3 separate regions of the Homo sapiens genome follow, and all the other regions are linked to region 2. Evidence: promoter capture Hi-C in 16 types of primary human blood cells and fetal thymus (Javierre and others, 2016). All regions are on one chromosome and are shown on one strand. Each heading gives the region's core, a stretch centred on a gene start or on the middle of the fragment in contact. The rest is flanking DNA. Distances are from core to core; before and after follow the strand shown.

Region 1 (3,563 bases), core at 74-2,573, 310 kb before region 2:
TTTTGGAATCCCTGAGATTCCAAGAAACCCCCTAATCCAGTCCCCATTTCTTAGGCAGATGAGGTATTATGTGCTGAATTTAGAGTCTCGGTGAGAGTAGTCAGTTTACTTCACCAAGATCAATACCTAGTTCAGGGCAAAAGGAACCTGAGAACCCAGCCTCCTATGGGGTGGTCTGTTTGGAATATCAAATGCCACTCTCCAGAGGGAAAGTGGCAGAGCCTGGGCTATGCCTTCTCTAATCTGTGACTGGCTTCTGTATGCATCCCTTTGAGCCTTTGGCCCACGGCTCCTGTCAAAATTGGGTAGCCTCACCTGGCTGCTGGCAAACCTCAGAGGCCAGGGGCCCTAGAGGATCAAGTTTCAAAGGGGTTGCAGGAGACAGGCCCTGAGACCCATTCATCAGCTGTGTGTTCTGAATCTGCATCTCCTCAGCCTCAAACTCCATGAACCTGCAGAGGGTGAGAAAGGCATAGGCAATGCTGAGAAGGAGACCAGACCCATCAGAAATCCAGACGACAGCCAAGCATGGCCAAGAAAGGAAGTGCTCTCAGGTGGGCAAAGTCTGCCTAAGTCATGTCACCCAGGAGGGTGGTCACAGGTGGCTTAATCGTATTTCCAGGGAAACTTCAGGAGCTCAGCACATAGTTCCTTCCCCTATAGTCATAACTTAGGAAGCTTAAGAAAATGAATGGCCAGGTGGGGTGGCTCATGCCTATAAACCCAACACTTTGGGAGGCTGAGGTGGGCAGATTGCTTGAGCCCAAGAGTTTGAGACCAACCTGGGTAACACGGCAAAAACCCATCTCTACAAAAGATACCAAAAAAATTAGCCAAGAGTGATGACGCGCGTCTAGTCACAGCTATTGTGGGGCTGAGGTGGGAGGATCGCTTGAGCTCAAGAGGTGAAGGCTGCAGTGAGCCATGACAGTGCCACTGCACTCCAGCCTGGGCAACAGAGTGAGATCCTGCCTCAAGAAAATTTTTAAAAAGTAAAGAATGAGGCCAGGCGCAGTGGCTCACGCCTGTAACCCCAGCACTTTGGGAGGCTGAGGCGGGCGGATCATGAGGTCAGGAGTTCGAGACCAGCCTGGCCAACATAGTGAAACCCCGTCTCTACTAAAAATGCACAAAATTAGCCTGATGTGGTGGTGGGTGCCTGTAATCCCAGCTACTCGGGAGGCTTAGGCAGGAGAATCACTTGAACCCAGGAGGCAGAGGTTGCAGTGAGCCGAGATCGTGCCATTGCACTCCAGCCCAGGCAACAGTGTGAGACTTTGTCTCAAAAAAAAAAAAAAAAAAAAAAAAAAGTTAAGAATGATCTAGAGCTTGTAAACTTCTCTTGGACACAGTGAGGGCTTTCAGTACTTGTTTTTGTTTTTGAGACAGAGTCTCACTCTGTCGCCCAGGATGAAGTGCAGTGGCCCAATCTCGGCTCACTGCAACCTCTGCCTCCCGGGTTCAAGTGATTCTCCTGCCTCAGTCTCCTGAGTAGCTGGGACTACAGGTGCGTGCCACCACGCCTGGCTTTTTTTTTTTTTTTTTGTATTTTTAGTAGAGACGGGGTTTCACCGTGTTAGCCAGAATGGTCTCAATCTCCTGACTTCATGATCCGCCCGCCTCACCCTCCCAAAATGCTGGGATTACAGGTGTGAGCCAATGTGCCCGGCCTCACTTGTTTTCCGTACCTATCTCACCCAGCTTCATGGATTGTACACAGCAGTGCTCAATATAGGCTTGTTTAACTTAATCAGGCCTATGCAACAGCCTGGTGGGATCTCACAGTGGGATCCTCCTCAAGACCTCATTTGCCCCTGCCTACAACCACAAAGAATTCAAGGCAGTTCCTACCAGGAAACAATGTGAGATCCCAGAGTCCTGAGACTGGGATGGGATTCTTGGAAAGGTAAGTCTAGGAAGCATGGGTCCAAAAGGTTTTGGGAGGGAGTAAGTGGAAGCTAAGCTTGGAAGAATCTGTTCATTTTTCTGAGTTTTTTCTTTCTTTCTTTCTTTTTTTGAGACAGAGTTTCGCTCTTGTTGCCGAGGCTGGAGTGCAATGGCACAATCTCGGCTCACCGCAACCTCTGCCTCCTGGGTTCAAGCGATTCTCCTGCCTCAGCCTCCTGAGTAGCTGGGATTACAGGCATGCGCCACCATGCCTGGCTAATTTTGTATTTTTAGTAGAGATGGGGGTTTCTCCATGTTAGTCAGGCTGGTCTCGAACTCCCGACCTCAGGTGATCTGCCTGCCTCGGCCTCCCAAAGTGCTGGGATTACAGGCGGAGCCACCACGCCTAGCCTTTTTTTTTTTTTTTTAATCAAAGATATTATAGAGAAATAGAAGAAGAGCCAGGAGACAACTTTGGGCATCCAGGACACTGGCTTTCCCCGGCTCTTCCAGAACCAGCCCCCTCCCTGGGATAAAGGCGGAAAGGGATTTTCTGTGCCACTATTTCCAATGGAGGAGTGGTCCTGAAGTTCTGTATCAATAGCCACTTGCTACCAAGTCAATGAGAAGAGAAAAGAACCTGCCTGGTAGAGCACACCTCCTCATTGCTAGGTCCCTTCAGCATGAAATTTCTATATCTATCGGGGTCCAATCTCCAATCCCATCCTAAGACCTACAATATCAAGGCTCCTATACAGATTCAGGATCTGGTGAGGGGGGAGCTTTCAAGAGGAAACAGGATAGAAAAACCCAAGAGTCAAGGTGGTGGAAGAAGAAGCAAGGATCCAGGAAACTGCCATCCTAGTCTACACCCCTCCTCCCGTCCCTTTTTTTCTTTTCTTTTCTTTTTTTTTTTTTTGTGATGAGGTCTTGCTATGTTGTCCAGGCTGGTCTTGAACTACTGAACCCAAACCATCCTCCCACCTTAGCCTCTAGAGTAGCTGGGACTACAAGCACACACCCAGCCTAACATCCCTTTTTTTTTTTTTTTTTTTTTTTTTTTTTTTTTTTTTGAGATGGAGTCTTGCTCTGTCACCCATGCTGGAGTGCAGAGGCATGATCTTGGCTCACAGCAACCTCCACCTCCCAGGTTCAAACGATTCTCCTGCCTCAGCCTCCTGAGTAGCTGGGACTACAGGCACATGCCACCATGCCCGGCTAATTTTTGTATTTTTTTTTTTTTTAGTAGAGACAGGGTTTCGCCATGTTGGCCAGGCTGTTCTCGAACTCCTGACCTCAGGTGATCCACCGGCCTTGGCCTCCCAAAGTGGTGGGATTACAGGCGTGAGCCGCTGCGCCCCATCCTAACATGGCTTTTGATAATCACCCCCACACAAGTCTCTCTGCGGCCCTTACTGCTCTCAGCCACACAGCCTCCCTCAGGAGAATGAAGGTTCATCGAACTCACCTTTCTGCCATCTCATAAAAGATCATCCGGTCAAAGTTGCTGGTGTGCTCCCACTCCTGCACAGCCAATGGCAGTCCCTCCTCCAGGGTCATAGTGGGCTTCAGCCGGGCCAGGGAACGAAGCACTGGGCTAAAACCCCCATTGAGTCAGTCACATTCTAAAAGTGTGCTCCCATCCACCTGCCCTGACACCTACATCAATAACACAT
Region 2 (3,528 bases), core at 418-2,917:
AATCACAGCTCACTACAGCCTCAACCTCCTGGGCTCAAATGATTCTCTATCTTAGCCTCCCAAGTAGTGGGACTATAGGCATATACCACCATGCCCAGCTAATTTTTGTAGAAATGGGGTTTCACCATGTTGCCCAGGCTGATCTTGAACTCATGTCTCAGGCAATCCACCCGCCACAGCCTCCCAAAATGCTGGGATTACAGGCACGAACCACACACCTGGCCTGTAACTGTGTAATCTTGGAAGTTACTTAACATCTGTTTTAGATTCCTGATCTGTAAAATGGAGACAACACTAGCTTACCTCGTAGGCCAGCTATTAGTCCCAAATGAAGTGATATGAGAAGTATGTAGAATAGTGTTTGGTGCATATAAGTGCTCTACAAGTGTTACTATTTTTAAGACTGTTTCTCTGGAGTTGACAATCCTTCAATAGTTCCCCCTGTCTGGAAGGCGCCCCTACTCCCATTTACCAACCAGGCAAACTCCTACTCAACCATTAGGCTTTAGCTCAGGGGTCTATTTCTCATGAAGCCTTGGGTAACCCGTTTAAATATAATTTAACTTTTCTTCTTTGGACCTTGATCTTGAATCTCTCACTGCACTCAGCAACACGGTACTGTAATCATCTATTCACACGACTAGATTATCTTCCTTGTGGGCAGTGAGCTACTTGAGGGCAGGGGCAAGGTTTTTTTTTTGTTTTTGTTTTTAATTTCAGGACATAGCACTGTGCCTGATGCAGAGTAGGCAATTAGAAGCAATGAAAAGTATTAACTATGTATGGATATAGGAAAGAACCAGAAAGTACTGAGGGGGAAGAAAACACTTATTCTGCTAGGCTGACATTTTAGCCCTTGCTTTCATTATTTTCAGGTGGTTTCAGTCCCAAGTTAAAAACTGCTTTCATGCATCTGTGTAACCAACTGTTCCCCTTCCTGTTTTCTCCTTGGTTGAAAGAAGGGACTGGAGTGAGACCGCCTTAGAATGCCAGTTCCACCACTACCTAGTTATTCACTTTAGTCAAGTTTTTTTTAACCTTTCCAAGGCTGTTACCTCACTGCAGAATAAGGATGACAGTCATCCCTACCTCATAGAGCTGTTATGAGAATGAAATACTCATGTGCTCAATAAATGTCAGCTGTAGTAGTCATTTCTACAGAAATTCTGCTGAGGACTTTGACGCCCTTTCTAGCCATCTCCCAGTTTCGCACTGTTCTCTCTCCCACGTGCTGCAGTCCACCTCTCACCAGACACAAACTCTTGTCTTTACATCCACACCTCCTGAACCCTGACTTCGGTATAGTTTTAAAATGATACACATTCGTTGCTGAAAATTAGATTAAACGGAGGAAAAAAAATTAACTCACTTCAAATCTCAGCAGTTAACCACTAACATTTTAGTATGTATTTGTTTAGACCTTTTCTTATGCAAATACATACGTTTAAACTTTTTTTTTCCGAGAGTTCACATCATACAAATTTTATTTTATGACTCGTCCTTGCACTTAGCACGGTCTCTCCCCCAACCTATCTCTGATGCCTTGAGAATCCCCCCGCCCCGCTGCAGACCCCCACCACTTCCAGCTCCCAGCGGTCCGGCCTTCCCGCGGTCCCGGTTCCGGCCCCACCTGCGGGACGCCGGCCGCCCCGCCCCGCCCCGCTCCGCTGCGGCCGGCCTCGATCCCTAGCCCCGCACCCCGCGCCTCGCTGCTACCGGGCGCCTTTCGCTCGCGGCTCCTCCGTGCGGCCCGCTTCCGGTGGGGCCAGGGCGTCTCCGCCGCAGCTCGGCTCCCGCGCGCTCAGCACCGCCAGCGGCGGCCAGATGCAGGCGGAGCGAGGAGCTCGGGGAGGCCGTGGGCGGCGGCCAGGCCGCGGCCGGCCTGGCGGAGATCGCCACAGCGAGCGGCCCGGAGCCGCAGCGGCGGTAGCCAGAGGCGGCGGCGGAGGCGGCGGCGGGGACGGAGGCGGACGCCGGGGCCGTGGCCGTGGCCGGGGCTTCCGCGGCGCTCGCGGAGGCCGAGGAGGAGGAGGCGCCCCGCGAGGCAGCCGCCGGGAGCCGGGAGGCTGGGGCGCAGGGGCCAGCGCGCCGGTAAGAGGCGACGGCTGGTGGGGCTGGGACCGCGTGTAACTGGGGCAAGTGGGGCCGAGGCCGCCAGTCAAGAGCCGCAAGAGAGCGTGCCAGGCGCGCGCCAGACGGGCGGCGGCGCCGGCGCCTGCGCGGGACGGGCGGATGGTGGCGCGGGGGCGCGCCTGGTGGCGGGGGCGCGCCTGGGTATGCGCTTGGCCCTCGTGGCCTCCTGGCCGGGCTGGCGCGAGACAGTGGGGGTAGGAGGGCTTCCCAGCCTGCCCCAGGGTCCGGGTTAGGAACCCAGAGGCCAAGGCCGTGTGTCAGGGCTGCAAGTCTCGGCGGCCCGTGGGCCGGCTGGGCTGTCTGTACGAGTACCACTATGGGACGGAGGCGCGGCCACGACGTGGTCCCTCGGCAGCCTTTACGGGCACGCTCCTGTTATTAGGAGGGAAAGGATTTTTTGGTCTGTTTTGTTAACTGTCTGTGCAATGCCTAGTACACAGTAGGCGCATAATAAAAAGTTTGTTGAGTGAAAGAATGACCCCTACGACTGGACTCTAGTATTTGGGGGCGGGACCAGATGCATAGTTCTTTGTAATAGCGTAGTTCTCTTTTATTATGCCTGTATGTGTAGAAATCAGCGAGCACTGGGCTTTGTCGTTTTGAATTTTCAATTTATAAATGAGCAGTCAAGTTCTGAGTTTTAATAGCAATATCATCAGTCTTATTGACACATTCATAGAAGGAAGTTTTTGGAGATTGGAGCAGGGGATGATATATATGGGGGCAAAGCTAACCATATCTCAGCTAAAGGAGTTAGAGGACTGTCTTTTTATGAGTTGTTCTGTTACCTTAACATCTGTAGGACAAGACCATCTTTATATTCTGCATTCTTATGCACACTGATTTAAAAAATTCTTTTTTGCATGAGGCAAAATTTGCTCTTACTGAAGTATTTACAATATCTTGAGGGCATAGCAGATAAGATATCCCTAAAGAGAGTAGTTGTATACAGCAATACAGAGCTGGAAAAAAAAGTATAAAACTTAAATTTAAATGTAACAAACTTAAATCTTGTTAGGATTAAGATAGGTAATAGGCAAAACTTGAATGAGATATAAAAACATTTTTAGGGTCAGTTTACCTCGTGTAAACTGACAGAAACTAAGGTAAATGACAGAAACTAAGACCAACCTAGTGCCCACTATATATCACATTTTGTTCTTATAACTCTATTATATATATATAATATATATGTAATGTAGAATTATGTAATATAATAGTATGTAATTATATATTAACTACAATGTTATATATTATTTATATATCCATATATAGAGAGTAATCTTTATTTTTACAGGTTAACTGACTTGCCTAAGCTTTCACAGCTAGTGGCAGAGCTGGGATTTATATCAAGCTGCCCTTGAGTCAACAGTATTTTATCTCTTACTTTTTCGT
Region 3 (4,031 bases), core at 92-2,591, 410 kb before region 2:
AATAAATCATCAGCCTAATGTAGGTGGGCTCTACCATTCACAGCAAGTGCACACTACTCTTCAGGTAGACCCAAAGCACAGGAAAAGCAGAAATAGTGCCATTGCCATTATATACCTACATTATGTTACAATCCTCAGCTTCCATTTTTTTTTTTTTTTTTTTTTTTTTTTGAGACGGAGTCTCGCTCTGTGGCCCAGGCGGGAGTGCAGTGGCGCAATCTCGGCTCACTGCAAACTCCGCCTCCCGGGTTCACGCCATTCTCCTGCCTCAGCCTCCCGAGTAGCTGGGACTACAGGCGCCCACCATCACGCCCGGCTAATTTTTTTTGTATTTTTAGTAGAGACGGGGTTTCACCGTGTTAGCCAGGATGGTCTCGATCTCCTGACCTCGTGATTCGCCCGCCTCGGCCTCCCTCAGCTTCCATTTTTGAAATATTTTTTTCTGTCAACACCAGCAGTGAAAATTAGACTATGTGCACAGGTTAAACATGCATTGAAGAGCTACAAATCTGGTAACAGAAATAATAAAACATTTCAGATCTGTGAATAATTTCAGTTGTCTATTTGATTGATCAGGAGTCATGGCACAGAAAGGAAAAAAAGAAGGTAAAATTAAGGAATATGTCCAGATGAAAGAGAAGTACCACGTGCCTACCACTCCCTTTCTGCCCAAAGTGCCAACATCTCTTATTAAATAAACTGCATTTTACTCTATTTATAGAAAAGGATACTCTAGAACTAGGAACTCCATTTCTATGATACCTGGGAACAGAATAAAAAACATAACTACAAAAACTGCAATATAAAAGCTGCTGTAGAAAACAGAAAATATGAGTCAAAACATTTCAGCTGAAGAAATTCTTCCCCCAAACCAACTAGGAAGAAAGATAAACTGCAATAAAACTCTCCAGACTGAATTAAATATCCTCAAATAAGCATCTGAAGATGGTACAATTCAAGAAATTTAACACTGAAGTAATATTTTCATCTAATCTATGTAGTCCATATTCCATGTCTAGAATCACATACTGCATTTAGTTTTTCTATCTCTTTCACCTTCTTTATTCTATCAGCATTTCTCTGCCTTTCTTTATCATGGCATTGGGAGTTTTGAAAAATTCAGGCTAGTAATTTTACAGAATGTTTCTTCATTTGAGCTTGATTGATGTGTTCTCATGATTAGACTTGGTTATACAGCTGCAAGTGGAATAATGCAGCAGTGATGTGGTGTCCTTCTCGGGGTACCATATATCCCCCAAATACAAGACATCTACATACCTCTTATTGGTGAGGTTACTTTGCAGCAAAAGGTCAAAGTGTCATTTGCATTCTTCACTGTTTAGTTAGTACTTTTCTCCTTGTAATGAATAGCAGTCTGTGAAGAGACACTTTGAGAACACGCAAGCAGCCTGCTTCTCATCCAGCTCTTCCCAAAGATAAGTATTCTCCTGATACTTCTTGCCTAAATTATTTTTTACCACCATAGTTGCAAATGGTATTCCCCGCCCTGCCTCCCTCCACCCGGCCACTCCATGACTCTTCCTTTCACATGTATCAGGTGGCACACTAATTTAAAGAAATGTTCTCTTGGCTGGGCGCGGTGGCTCACGCCTGTAATCCCAGCACTTGGGGAGGCTGAGGCGGGCGGATCACGAGGTCAGGAGATCGAGACCATCCTGGCTAACACGGTGAAACCCCGTCTCTACTAAAAATACAAAAAAATTAGCCGGGGGAGGTGGCGGGCGCCTGTAGTCCCAGCTACTCAGGAGGCTGAGGCAGGAGAATGGCGTGAACCCCGGGGGGCGGAGCCTGCAGTGAGCCGAGATCGCGCCACTGCATCCAACCTGGGCGACAGCGAGACTCCGTCTCAAAAAAATAAAATAAAATAAAGAAATGTTCTCTTTTCTCCTCTGCTTATTTATCCATTTATGTATGCGCGTATCTCTTTGTTTGCTTATTATAATAGATGAATAATTTCCTACTTTATTTAATCATCCTATTTTATTTAATCGTTGCAATCCTCATTTATTTTGATAGACAAATTGTCCCTAGATTTGGTCAGCAGGAGCCCCTTCAAGCTATTGCCTATTTCTTTTTGACATGTTCCCATTGTTTTCTTGAGCACTCCCTTTCTTTCTGGCACAAAAAGGTGTTCCAGTTTCATCATGTACCTTCTTTGTCCCAGCCCTGGAACCAGACATTTCTCCAAGAGGCTCTTGTTCCTTTCAGTAGGGACAGGTATTAAAAACCATCTGGGCACAAAATTCGCTTATGGCTCTTAAGGTATTAGTGCCTCTTTTGTGGGTAGAATTAGGAAAAAATAATACATATATGTGTGTGTGTGTATATATATATATACATGTAAATATATATGTGTATTGTGCATACATATATATCTGTCTCGTACTGAGACACTGTTTGCTTAGCTACATTTGACTTAGGTGCCAGTTTCAGCCAGAATAGGAGAGGGAAGAGATGAGGGAGGAGGGAGAGTGAGAGAGAGAGAGAGATGAGAAAGAATTCCTCAGGATCACTTATAAAGTGATTTGTAGAAGCAGTGAGTAGGAATGGTTTCATTTCACTTGTGAACTCTGAGCATTAACTTTCCCCATTCATGTCTATGAATGTTTTCTGTTCAAATGCCAACCTTCAACTGGGCTTTGACGTGGAGAGGGAAGAGTTTTCAATTCATCTGCACCCATTTGCTCTTCAATGTATCCTGCATTTTACTGTATCCTAGAAAACCACTACCCAGGTACAGGTATCTGGTCTGTGCTCACTTCGCTTTAGAAATAAAAATTATAAGGTGGAATTGAGAAGATAATGTTTGAATAAATGGTTGAAGAATGCCCAGACCACCTAAGAGAAAAATGAACACTGTATAGATTATGTTATCATGCCCACAGATCACTGTGATAAATAAGACTCCATGAACAAACCTTGAATAGTGTGCACTGTTCTGTGGCCAATTCATTTGCCATTTCAAGATATCCAGCCACTCAAAGGATTTAAAGCAGGAAGGATTTCACAGGATCTATGATACAGTCTTTTGTAAAACAACTTTAGATAGTCATTTATTTTCTCATTATATTTTTAGCAAGCACAGAACAGGTGGGAAACACAGCTTAGCTGGAATGGAACAAAGGAAGATTTGATACTTTTTTAGAAGCTTTTACAATAGAATCTATACTTTAATGGATAGCGTTATGAGAGAAAATAAGATTATAATGGAATAAAAAGTGGTCTAATGTTCATCATTCAATTTAGTGGATATGTTATAAGATTATTTCTAAAATCTTTTGTAGATAAAACTAGATGCCTTTCTTGATTCTATGACTGGTATTACCCTGTCATAATTTCTGAGCCCTTTACTAAAAGTGTTTTACTGAACATACTAAAGCGTATTATGTAAAAGATAGTGAGCTATGGTGCAAGATACTATGCAACATGCCCCCCAATATTGTGACTACCTCTCCACCTATTTATACATAGAATTTACGTGGCATAAACAGATAGGCAAATACTATAATTATTATAAAATGATTTTTCAAAATCTATTTTTGTATCTAACATAATGCTAAAGAAGAACTCTGTCAAAATAAAATATTAGAATTTCATAAGTCTTTTGTGCCTAGAAATTGCTGAGATGTAAGCCTTTTTTCATGAATGCTTTCTCTACTGACTCCTCCTCCTCCTGAGTTGATGAGTACTCTGCCCCTTGCTCTTTGTGCTAAACACAGACAAGAGTGAGTGCTGGTGGTCCCTAAGAAATAACTAGATTACAAACATTGGCCGGGCGCGGTGGCTCACGCCTGTAATCCCAGCACTTTGGGAGGTCGAGGCGGGCGGATCACGAGGTCAGGAGATCGAGACCATCCTGGCTAACACGGTGAAACCCCGTCTCTACTAAAAAATACAACAAATTAGCCCGGCGCGGTGGCGGGCGCCTGTAGTCCCAGCTACTTGGGAGGCTGAGGCGGGAGAATGGCGTGAACCCAGGAGGCGGAGCTTGCAGTGAGCCGAGATAGTGC

What was found. The method cuts DNA at HindIII sites, captures the fragments that hold promoters and counts their contacts. A CHiCAGO score of 5 or more calls a contact.
Region 1: a contact is called between a fragment that was not itself captured here and the fragment with the promoter of AVEN in region 2, in 1 of 17 cell types (total B cells). The highest score is 6.3, in total B cells.
Region 3: a contact is called between a fragment that was not itself captured here and the fragment with the promoter of AVEN in region 2, in 1 of 17 cell types (total CD4 T cells). The highest score is 5.5, in total CD4 T cells.

The regions. Positions count from the first base shown.
Region 1 is chr15:34,350,625-34,354,187 of GRCh38, reverse strand. NUTM1 (NUT midline carcinoma family member 1) reads right to left here. Exons shown (of 8, transcript NM_001284292.2): 4 at 3,356-3,484; 5 at 316-452. Among named protein-coding and RNA genes, the nearest start is that of NUTM1, 9.1 kb to the right of the region's middle. RefSeq lists an enhancer at 1-417. The HindIII fragment of the contact is 1,285 bases long and covers 681-1,965 here.
Region 2 is chr15:34,037,343-34,040,870 of GRCh38, reverse strand. AVEN (apoptosis and caspase activation inhibitor) reads left to right here and starts at 1,667. Exons shown (of 6, transcript NM_020371.3): 1 at 1,667-2,091. The coding sequence starts at 1,825. The region is part of intron 1 of CHRM5 (cholinergic receptor muscarinic 5); the gene reads right to left. RefSeq lists silencers at 1,575-1,744, 1,925-2,134, 2,225-2,284, 2,635-2,694. The HindIII fragment of the contact is 8,272 bases long and covers 1-3,451 here.
Region 3 is chr15:34,445,937-34,449,967 of GRCh38, reverse strand. No RefSeq gene overlaps it. Among named protein-coding and RNA genes, the nearest start is that of GOLGA8A, 10 kb to the right of the region's middle. The HindIII fragment of the contact is 3,660 bases long and covers 1-3,171 here.